Linked DNA regions of Homo sapiens: region 1 is linked to region 2. Evidence: promoter capture Hi-C in 16 types of primary human blood cells and fetal thymus (Javierre and others, 2016). All regions are on one chromosome and are shown on one strand. Each heading gives the region's core, a stretch centred on a gene start or on the middle of the fragment in contact. The rest is flanking DNA. Distances are from core to core; before and after follow the strand shown.

Region 1 (5,818 bases), core at 1,916-4,415, 570 kb before region 2:
CACCTCCACTGGATCTTGGCTCATCCAGCGAGAGTGATTGACAATCCCCAAAGGCTGTTGGCCAACTATTTGCAAGAGGGGTCCATGGAGAGAGGCCTCTTCCACCTGTTACTCTTTTCTCTATCACTTCACATCCATAGGGGTCCCTAAGCCCCAAGAGAAGGGTCAAGTGCAAATCTGGTAAGCCAAGAAGACCTAGCAGTTGTCAACCTAATTAGCCTTCAGGAAAAATATATGGCTATATGAGCACAGTAAAGTTGCTATAGAGACAGGCAGGGGAGGTACATTCAGAACAGGGCCTCATCGCATCACCCGATAAAAATAAGACCCAGGCTTTTTAATAGCATGAATTACTTAAGTTTTAAATTTAACAGGGGACGACACCAAGGCTCTCACTGGTTTTCAGAACATTTGAGGAATCTGGGCTGCCTGCTTCTGCATATGTTAGCAGCCATCACAACATATGCTGTGGCGGATGGCAATGAAGAACTGGAAGCCCACGTGTCTCTCCCACACCGTGAGATGAGAGATGGTCTTTCTCACTTTGGGTTTGTCCTCTTTAATTGGGTGAGAGATTTTCAATGTGTTTCAGGGAAATTTCTGGGAAATAGCTATACTGCGCTCTGCACTGGCCAGTTGTATGTATTATTGCTAGTCACTGTAACAACCTTAGGAAGTAATGATATCATTTTGCAGATGACAAAATAAGCTCAGAGAGGTCCAGAACTTTCCTAAGGTCACACAGCTACTAAATGGTGGAGTTGAGATTCAAATCCAGGTGTCCCCATTCCAAAGCCCATTGCTTTATGAGACATCAACCAGAACCTCTGCACAGAGAGGAATCCAGGAAGAGATGAATCTAAGGAGCGTTACCATTTTTATTGGTATATGACATGGACCTTGTTATAGTTTAATCTCTCTCCTAAGGCAGTCCCAAAGTGGATGGGTTCCAAGAAATTCCACAGAGATTCTGAGCTCTGCTGGTGAGCACCTCTCCGATTATCCAAGGCAAGTGTTAACTTCAGACTGACTTCTCCTTACCATCCAACATGTTTCTGGACTGTCTCTTCCCTAAGTGAGGACCACCAGCATAATTAACACAAGATTCCAAACAACATCACTGAGAAAGTGTCCCCACTGCTCTTGCATCCATGAAAGCTTAACTATATGAAACCCAGCTGGAAATCCAAAGTGAAGTTCTTTTTGTTGACAACTTTGTCTTCGGATTATTCATGAACCTTTTACTTTGCAGAAGGATTTTTAAAAACAGTTTTCCAACAAAGGCCTACATAGTAGACTCAATCTGAGCCTATAAGGCATCATCTTTCCTCATGGGAAATGGCAGTGCTGGTGATGATGAGATTGGGTATGGGACAACGGCAGTGGAAGGGAGAGGAAGCCAATGGGGAAGTCAGGGGGCCGTGGTGACAGTAGGAACAAGTGGTGCCTATGTCCCTCCCCATTCAGTTTACCAGCTGAGGGTAAAGACAGACATCTGGGCTTCACAGGATTTCAGAAGGCATGTCTAGGGCAACACTAAACACATGGCTTGACAGAAATTTGAACCAAAGCATCGAACCCAGTGAACGAGGCAGAAGGGCAGAGAGAAGGCAGGTAGAAGCCACAGACCAGAGGCTGGGACCCAGGGCACAGCAGAAGGTTTAGAATCAGAGGGAAGGCGGTGGTGCCTCAGTAGAGTCCTTGGGCCATGGAACTCACCCCAGGAGCTTTTCCAGGCTGCCTGCAGCCTGCAATGTGGGTGTAGAGTGTGGCTAAGGGAGCTGCCTGCTGGGACCAGCTCTACTGCTCAGGACACTCAAATCCATCTGTATGCCACTGTCATCACCCCACACATACTCTCTCCAATCCCGGCAAAATCAGTGCTAATGTCTCACCAACAGATTAAGGCCTGGATTGAAGTACAAGAAACAGGATTTTTAACTCAAGTTAATTCAATTCCCCAGCGACCCTTGTTAACTTATTCACCCTCAGAGACGTATTAATAGTTCTGTCTTATATTGTATAGAAATTTGTGCAGTGAGTTTTCTGGTAGCTTTACATTTTTTTTCTCACTTCAGTTAGACATGTAATCTATTTAAAAGTAATATGGGAATAAGATAAATCAGTGTAGGAATAACTTCCTGGCAGAAATATTTTTACTAGTTTCTGAGTGTAATATCAGCCCAGCAAAAGTTATCTGCAAATATAGAAGTTCTCATGTACATCAAAGACACTCAAGTTTTTTTTAAGAAATAAATCATTTTATGCTACTGAAATAACTCTGTGATGTGCTATTGGCATTTAAGGAGCTAAACAGACTCTATGGGCCAGCCAACTTCTACTGCAAGCATTAGACATGCACAGGCTTTAGACTCAGGCACACCTTAGAAGTTCTGGCTTTGCTACTTATTAGCTATGGTAACTCGGGCAGGTCATTTATCCTCTCTAAGCCTCAACTTCCTCATCTGTGAAATGGGAATAATATCAGTCACATGCCAGGGATAAATCCAGGGAGAATGGCCAGGGGGCTGTGTCAAAGGCCAGACACAACTTCCACCCCAGGTGAATGTCGGGACCAGGACAGTGAGCAGGCAAACCTTGCCCTTGCCCTCCTTCCCTCCACAATCTTAAAGCTCCTTGAACAACCCCCATCCCCACCCCCTGAGAATGTCTGTGCCCTCCTGCTGAAAGGGTTTGGCCTTTCAGTGTTCCCCTCCACCATGAGCTGTTTCCATGAAAAGATCTCAAGGGTGACTTGAGGCTACGGTCATCACTACCACAAGCCTTTTCCCATCCCTGCCTCTACCTATTGCCCTCTAAATAAGGAAGCCAGCGCTGCCAGGCAAAGAACTTCTGCCCAATATGGGTCCTGGGTGGCCTCTCGCCTCTCTCTTTCCCTGGGCCCCCAGCCAGCTCCCCCCTCCCCCAGAGATGCTCCCTGCTCACTTCATTCCTGCCTCATAGTTGGAATGACAGTGGCTCCCAGAACCCCTGGGGAGTGTGGAGGGTGATGGGGGTCTGGGGAGGCAGCCAGGCCCAAGAGCAGGTTAATGTTACAGCCCTGGATAAGTGAGCTGGGCGGGTTGACGTCAGGGCGATGATGGGTGGAGGGGAGGGCCGGGCTGCTGAAGCAACTATAAAGATAGGTCAAATCAAATATCATCAACTAGGGACGGAGCAAGCGGGCGAGCTAGAGAGCGTCCCCGAGCCATGGTCTCTACCGGCCGCGGCTCAGCCTGGGTCCCTCTGCTCTCAACCCGAGTGCCCGATGGAGGCTTTGGTTTCATGTCAGCAGCCTTCATCTGCCTTCCAAAAATAAGCCCCTGCCGCCATGCCGGAGGGAGAAAAACAAGAAGGGCGGTATTTTTAGGGCCATTAATTCTGACCACGTGCCTGAGAGGCAAGGTGGATGGCCCTGGGACAGAAACTGTTCATCACTATGTCCCGGGGAGCAGGACGTCTGCAGGGCACGCTGTGGGCTCTCGTCTTCCTAGGCATCCTAGTGGGCATGGTGGTGCCCTCGCCTGCAGGCACCCGTGCCAACAACACGCTGCTGGACTCGAGGGGCTGGGGCACCCTGCTGTCCAGGTCTCGCGCCGGGCTAGCTGGAGAGATTGCCGGGGTGAACTGGGAAAGTGGCTATTTGGTGGGGATCAAGCGGCAGCGGAGGCTCTACTGCAACGTGGGCATCGGCTTTCACCTCCAGGTGCTCCCCGACGGCCGGATCAGCGGGACCCACGAGGAGAACCCCTACAGTGAGTGCCAGCTGCAGCCAGTCGGGACGCTTGGGGGTTTGGGCTCATGCAGGGCTAAAAGGTGAAGGGGCCCTGCTCTAGCGGACAGGATGCACGATAAAGGGGGCAGAAATGCTGCTCACCACTTAGATGATTCCACGTGACCCTGCCTGGGTGCAAGCTCAATATACTGCGGTCCAAGCATCCTGGTGTTCTTTGCCATCGCCTTGGTTAGATCCTCAGTGGCACTAACTATTTCAGCATTACTGGCCCATCTGATGCCTTGTAAGACCATTAGGAACCATTAGTCTGGGAAGCCCCCAAGGCCTGGGTAGGGAGAATCAGTTAGTATACTTGGATCAAATTTGACACAAGCTCATTTTTATTCAGCTTCTTTCTTGGAGAAGGAAGGGAAATTCAATTGCAAAATGTCCAACTGAAGCACATCCTTCTTTTTATTTCAGCGGCTCCCTCTGTCCCCAGGTTCTTATCCTGCAAGCTGCCTGCAAGCTGCCAGCTTGCTGTATGGTTAGTCTCCTATCCAAGAAAGGATGGGGGCTGCAGGATCCAAGAAAGCCATCAGCTATGGTGTGGCTGCTGTGTTTTCAAGATTAAGTGGGTTGAGATTTGTTGAAACATGTAGAGTACACATTAAGAAGAAGAAGAAGAATCAGAATTTATTTTTTTACTCAAGTCAAGGACCTCAAGTAATTATGTCACTGAAAGCCCAGATTCAAAGCTCATCTTAAACAGATAGCTAAGTGGTCACTGCAGCCCCTAACTCTGCTATCAGAACCTTCCCTTGCAGAACTGGATTTCTAACAGCACAATGGCAGCACTCGATGAGTCCAGCAGCCAGGGTCTCCTAGAGTTAGAGGGATCATGGATGGGGCAATGGAGAGTCTGGCTTTCTAGGAGAAGGGGGATGGACTGAGATGCCCTTGTCGGCTCAAGTTCCCACTCTGATTTGCACAAGCCTTAGGTAATGTGGCCCCCCTTTCCTTGTCAGGCCTGCTGGAAATTTCCACTGTGGAGCGAGGCGTGGTGAGTCTCTTTGGAGTGAGAAGTGCCCTCTTCGTTGCCATGAACAGTAAAGGAAGATTGTACGCAACGGTGAGTTCACCAGGCCGGGGAAGTGCCAGGTTTACAAGGCTTGATGCTTACACAGTTGAAGAAAATAATATGAAGTCCTGAGTAGAGAAGTGACTATCTAAATGGGAAAGGAAAGGCTGTGAGAGGAGCCTGTGAAAGGGAGGGGCCTTGCAGCTTGTGCTTCTTCAGCCTCACGGGTGATTGTCCTCTGCCCTGGCCCGTGCTTCTTCTGTTCCCACCTGCCGGCCGGAGCCCGTGTGCTTAAACGGAAACCACAGCTCAGGGAGCCCGTGGGCCAGAGGGAAACCCACATTCTGGCATCCAGGCTTGTGAGCAGGTGTGATTCCCTGCACTGGCGAGGCCCCGAGAGCAAGTCTGTCTCTCTGCCTGGGTGCGCTGCTCCATGACACGCGCCCTGCAAGATGCCCCAGCCTCGTGCGCAGCAGGAGGAGTGGAATGGGAGGCTATTTTCATCCTCATCAGTGTGCTGAGATTCTGCACTAGGGTTTTCAATCCTCTGGTCTCCGATCACGTACGCTAGAGAAGCAGCCTACCCGTTATACACTTTAGGCTGGTACCAGTCCCACCCATTCCCATCCCCACCCCCATAGGTCACCTCTGGGAGTGCCAATGCTGGCACTTGGGTTAATGCAACCAGCTTCTAAGCACATTGACGAAAACCTCTGCTCTCACTGACCTACTCTTTCCTGCAGCCCTCGGCCCATCATTTGGCTTATTCCAAAATATGGCGGGGCAAACATCCCGATGAGGCTGAAGAAATGGAGAGTTCCTTTGACAGAAATAAGCAAGCTAAAAAGGAAGACCTCAGAGCAGGCCTCAAAAAATATCAAAGTTATTTATGGGGAGGGTGTGGAGAGCTGATCTACTGCCCCTTGGAGGATAAACTGAGGACTGGGATGTGAAGAAATAGATCCAGGACTGGCACTGGGTCCCAGGGGAGCTGTCCCAACAGAGGAGGTCTATGAAATACA
Region 2 (5,814 bases), core at 335-2,834:
ATGTAATGATTATAACTGTGGCATATTTTAGGAATAAGCAGATAATTAATAGAGGAGAATGTTCAGAAACAGATATATACGTGTATGTATACCTATGTATATGTATATGCAAATTTAGGTTGTAATTAACAGTGGCACTTCAAAGTAGTGAGGAAAGAATATTCACTAAATGACATGGGGGCAACTGGTCAACCATTTGGCAAAAATAATCTCTTAGTAAACTATTTTATTTCCAGGAATTAATTCCAAGAAGTAAATGGACAAATGTGAAGAAATGCCTGTTGAAGGATTTTTTTGGGATAGTGAAAAATAGAAAACCACTCAAACGTCTATTCAGTAGATTATTTCAAATGTGTGTGTCTATTTGTGTGTACGTAGTATACGCATAAGTTATGGAATGCCATGAGTCTACTTTAAAATATGGCCGGGTGCAAGATGGCTCACACCTGTAATCCCAGCACTTTGGGAGGCCAAGGCAGGTGGATCACCTGGGGTCAGGAGTTCGAGACTGGCCTGGCCAACATGGCGAAAACCTGTCTCTACTAAAAATACAAAAATTCGCGGGACGTGGTGGCGCACATCTGTAATCCCAGCTACTCAGGAGCCTGAGGCACGGGAATCGCTTGAACTCGGGAGGCGGAGGTTGCAGTGAGCCAAAATGGCGCCACTGCGCTCCAGCCTGGGCGACAGAGCGAGGTTCTGCCTAAATAAATAAATAAAATGATGAAACAGATTTAAACTTAATGGAATGGAAGGATAGCCACATAATCTTTAAAGTGAAAAAAAAATCAGGTTCTAAATCTATAGGTATTCTTTGATTACATTTTTTTCAATGTGTAGAGGCATAGAAAAGTCCAGAAGGATCTATAATGAGCTGTTTAATTTTCATTTCCTATGGGGTAGATCCTTTGTTGCATGGAAGATTATTTCACTCTGTTAGCTCTCTTTACATCAGTAGGAATACATCCTCATGGTTTTAAACATCTTGAGGGAGCTTTCCTGACACTCTACTCTAGGTAAATATGCTCGCATAGCACTCTCTATTCACCATATTACCTATAAATCATATTGCACTTTTTAACTTTTCTAAACTACTTTTTGCTTTCTTTTCTAGATTATAAAATCTTGAGGGCAGGGATAGTATGTAAAGGTTCCCTTGTGAGCAAATAACCGTCACTTATTGAACTCTGTGTGCCAAATACTGTGCTAAATGCTTTCAATAATCTCACTCATAGGGAGATATTACTACCATCTCCATTTTGAGGATGAAGATATTGAAAGATTATGAAGTTTCTCCCAAATGCCATTGCCAGGCCTGTGTGACTCTTGGTCGTTACACGGTGATCAATAAAAATTTGTTTCATAGGAAAGAAATACAGCCAGCCGTGGCTTTAAGATCACTGGGTGATACAGTTGGACCAGAAACCCTTTAAACTCCTTCGTCAGACACAGACTCGCAAGCCCCGCCCAGGACGACCGCCCGCGCGCGTATGGATAAGCGTGCAGGGGCGGGGCGAGCTTGTAGGAGTGGGGCGGAGACAGATCTGACTGGCCAACGTCGGGCGGAAGTCGGGAGGTTGGGTGGTCTGTAAACGCTGGCTTGTGACAGGGAGGGGGAGGAGGAAGGCCTTCGTAAAGGTTGCATCTCCGTCCCTTCGCTCCCGGGGACCCGCGGGAAAAAAAAAAATCCAACACCCAGGCCCCGCGGCTAGCCCCTTCCCACAGGCTCTCTCCGCTCGATTTTGTCACCGTTATGTGGGAAGCGAATCCAGTGAGTAGCCGGGCGGGACGGGGCGGGCCCAGGGGGCGGGGTTGATGAGAGAGGGGCGGGAGGGGGTCACCGGAACTGCTTCCCCGCGCTCGCTTCAGTCTGGGTGTTGAGTTCCGGGACCGGAGTTCCCGGGCCTTTTGGCTTCTGTAGTCTGTACCTTTTTAAGCAGTGGAAGTGCCTGGGTGGATTCTCCAATGCTTTATTGTTTTCTTGTTACAATTATTTATTTTACTTCCCGTGATGTTTCAGCCTCATCCCTTCACCATTTGTTGTTGTTGTTGTTTTTGAGACGGAGTCTCGCACTGTTGTCCAGGCTGGAGTGCAGTGGCGTGATCTCGGCCCACCGCAACCTCCGTCTCCCGGGTTAAAGCGATTGTCGTGCCTCAGCCTCCCGACTGCCTTCACTGTTTTTTGAAACTTTGTGTTTTGCTTTCTAATTGGAGTAACTGGCCTTGGAACCTGTAGTCAGTCATTTGCCTCAGGTTTACCTGCCAGTCCCACCAGTCTAAAGCAAGGGAATTGGGACCCCCTTGTCTTGAATGGGCCTAAGAGGAGCCATCAGTTCTCCTTTTCCCTTCTTGGTGGACAGTCGTTTAAAACTTGGAGTATGGACTGTATGTTCTTAGATGTTTTCGTTCGGTGGACAAAGTGATCTGGAGCATTTCAACTGCAAGTCTGCCTTCTTCCTTGGCTGACTCTGGTATTTTCATTATGACTTCATGTGTCTTTGTCTACTTTGCTTTTATACATTTATTTATTTAAAGTGCAACGTAGGGGCCGAAAACTTTAGTACCTTTCCTCACCACCCATTGTAAGGATCACAGCCACCACTCCTTAAAACAGAAGATAGGTTAACAAGGTAAAAGCAGAGCAAATCTAATCAAAGTTTTACACCACCAGGCACTTCAGAGACCAGGGAGATCTCTATTTTTATGCGTAGGACCCATGAAGAATAGACAACTGTGTAAAAATGTGACTGGACAAAGGATATACTCTAATGTTAATAAACTGAGGAAGGAAGCCCAGCAAGGTCTGTTTGTTCAGATTCTTCTTGGCCTCTCTGTGTATCATTTCTTCCTCCTACGGAGGAGGAAGGTCCCTTCTGGAATGAGGGTCTTAGCGACCTACTATCAGGCAAGGTAGATTAGAGAATTTCTTTATGGCCAGTTCCTATAGACAATGGCAGGGAAAGCTTAATAGTTCCAGTTTTTATGGCTTGCTTTGTAGGAGAGGGATCCTAGTTTCTATCACTCACCTTGGGGAAGAATTCTGGTTTCTGTGACTCACTTCTGGGACGAAAGATGGGCAGGAGACAGAAGGGCAGGAGATCAGAGGGAGAGACTGCTTCCGAGGCTGCTTCTGAGGCCTTCCAATCTCTTTTAGTTCAAAGTATTCAGCATGCCAAAGTGTCATACTTCGGGGTAGTATTTTCTGAGCCCCAACACAACCCTCAGAGAGTGGGATCTATTTGCCAAGAGTATTCTTCTGTTGTTATGGTTGAAACTGCCTGGTAAGGTGGCAGATGTATGGTATTTAAAACTTAGGAGTTGACTGGAAAAATGGTAGAATCACATTTCAGCAAGTTGTTGGACTAAATACAGTCGTGCGCCTCCTAACAATGGGGATATGTTCTGAGAAGTTCATTGCTGGGTGATTTTTTTCATTGTGCCAACGTCATAGAGTGTACTTTCATAAGCCTGCTACACACCTAAGGCTATATGGAATAGCCTATTGCTCTTAACCTAGAAATCTGTACAGCATAGTATTGTACTGAATACTGTAGGCATTCGTAACACAATGGAAAGTATTTATGTATCTAAACATAGAAAAGATACAGTAAAATAAAGTGTTAACAATCTTTGGGACCACTTGTATATGCGATCCATGGTTGACTGAAAGCTTTTATGCAATGCATAATTGTGTATGAAACATAAGAAACTACTCCTATGCTGAGATAACTGCATAAATTTACTTTAATAACCCCTAATTTCCATATTTGCAATAATTTCCTATAATCAGTATTCTTCCCCTCTCATTTCTGGAATATATTTCCAGATAAGTTAGAAAGTTTATCAGTACATTTCCCTATGTTTTTAAGTTAAGTTTTTATCCAGTAGAAACTAGTCTGTTGGTCTGGATTTGGTAGTTGCACATTATGGTTCCTTCTTGTGCATCATATAACAATAGTCATCATCTTAGTATTTTCGATTCATACGTATAATACTCTCTTCAAGCTGCATTAGAGGAAAGTAATTACTTGTATTTGATTTTAGCAAAAATAATTTAGAATAATGAGAATGTGCTCTCTGCTTATATATTCAGTTTCACTATCTGTCATCAACAACCTTCATTTTGTATTTATATCTTTATGTAGCTATTATTCCCTTTTTGTTATCAGTCCTTCTTAATTTTTCCATAACAAACCCTTTAGCCACCCAAGTATATGTCTTACTCAAGGTTTTAAATCTTTCACTATATTGTAAGATCCACAAGGACAGGGGTTTTTCTCTGTTATTTTTCCTATAGTATCTTCAACTAGAGAACAGAACCTGACACATAGTAGGCACTCAATAAATATTTGTTGAATTCATGATGGTGGTTGTACCAGCAAGGACTAAAGATAATTCTTTGCTCCTACTATGAATTTTCCCTCCTGCGTCACACATACATCAGAATTTGCTGTTGGATTATTTGTGTGTTTGTGAGAATTATAAAGGCATTAATGAATGTCTTATATACTTGATTTGTTATATCATTATCTCATTTCTTTGTAAGCAATGGGTTTTCTTTGAAATCACCTGTGTGATTTTGCTAATTTCAGCAGAGCAGGCTGACTTTTGTTAAAAGTGGGGAATCCTCCACAGATCATCTCACATTCTTCTTTTGCCACCCAAATAAGACATATTTGTCTTACTGCTACTGTATTTTATTACTACTAATAGTTTTTCTTCCTATAAGCATATGAATGATATCAGTAAGCGCAATTTGGTTTTAAAAATCAACATTCTACGTGTGGGTTTCTCTAGTAATTTGTTAGTTTATTTTAGTTTCGCTTTCCTGGTTTCACTTACCACAATTTCACTTACCAGAAGTCAGCTGCGGTCTGAAAATATGAAATGGAAAATTCCAGAAATGAACAATTAATAACTTTTAAGTTGCATACTGTACTGTGTAGTGTGATAAAATCTCATGCCATTGTGCTCCATCCTGCCTGGGGCCACGAATCATCCCTTTGTCCAGCATATCCACACTGCATATACTCTACCTGCCTGCTGGTCATATAATAACATGTAATGTCACTCACTTATTTATTGAGCACCTGTTATAAGCTAGTTAGTGCGAAGTCCCAGGGTTTACAGTGGTGAACAGAACAGACTAGGCTCCAGCCTTTATGGGTTTGCAGTCTGGTGCAGGCAGGCAGATATTAAACAAATAATTATGCAAATACATTTAATTTAAATTGTGATAAAAAGATATGAAAGAAAAAGAGTACTATGACAGTGTAGGGGGAGCTAATACTAGACTGGGCAATCAGGAAAGGCCACCCTGTGAAAGTAACTTTTATAGAGATCTGAAGGATTGAGCAAGCGTTAGCCAGGTAAAGGTTGGCTGGAAGGTGGGGAGAGCTGTTCAGACAGCAGAGATAGTGTGAGCAAAGATCCTGAGAAAGAAAGGAGCTTGGTGCTTGAGAAAAAGAGAGAAGCCTATGTGGCTGGGACACAGTGCACCAGAAGACAAGCCCAGGAGGTAGGAACCAGGCCATGCATGGATTTGAGGCACATGTTTAGGATTTTGAACTTTATCCTTAGAGGAGTGGTAACACATTGAAGGAAGTGTCATGAACATATTTATGTTTTTAAAAAGATTACTCTGGCTGATGTGTGGAAAATGAGTTTATGTATTAGAAAATATGGTAGACGTAATAATGGCCTCCTAAAGATATCCACATATTAATACCCAGAATCTGTAAATATGTTGTTACATGGCAAAAGGGAGGTAATTAGCTAATCAGCTGACCTTAAGATAAAGAGATTACCTTGGAT

The links. The method cuts DNA at HindIII sites, captures the fragments that hold promoters and counts their contacts. A CHiCAGO score of 5 or more calls a contact.
Region 1: the fragment with the promoter of FGF6 here is called in contact with the fragment with the promoter of PARP11 in region 2 in 1 of 17 cell types (monocytes); the score reaches 5.9 in monocytes.

What each region holds. Positions count from the first base shown.
Region 1 is chr12:4,443,162-4,448,979 of GRCh38, reverse strand. It overlaps FGF6 (fibroblast growth factor 6), which reads left to right and starts at 3,165. Exons shown (of 3, transcript NM_020996.3): 1 at 3,165-3,755; 2 at 4,744-4,847. The coding sequence starts at 3,410. The HindIII fragment of the contact is 8,014 bases long and covers 1,161-5,818 here.
Region 2 is chr12:3,869,169-3,874,982 of GRCh38, reverse strand. It overlaps PARP11 (poly(ADP-ribose) polymerase family member 11), which reads left to right and starts at 1,584. Exons shown (of 8, transcript NM_020367.6): 1 at 1,584-1,771. The coding sequence starts at 1,754. It overlaps PARP11-AS1 (PARP11 antisense RNA 1), which reads right to left and starts at 4,811. Exons shown (of 2, transcript NR_183432.1): 1 at 3,027-4,811. RefSeq lists enhancers at 95-614, 615-1,135 and a silencer at 1,807-1,916. The HindIII fragment of the contact is 6,718 bases long and covers 1-2,965 here.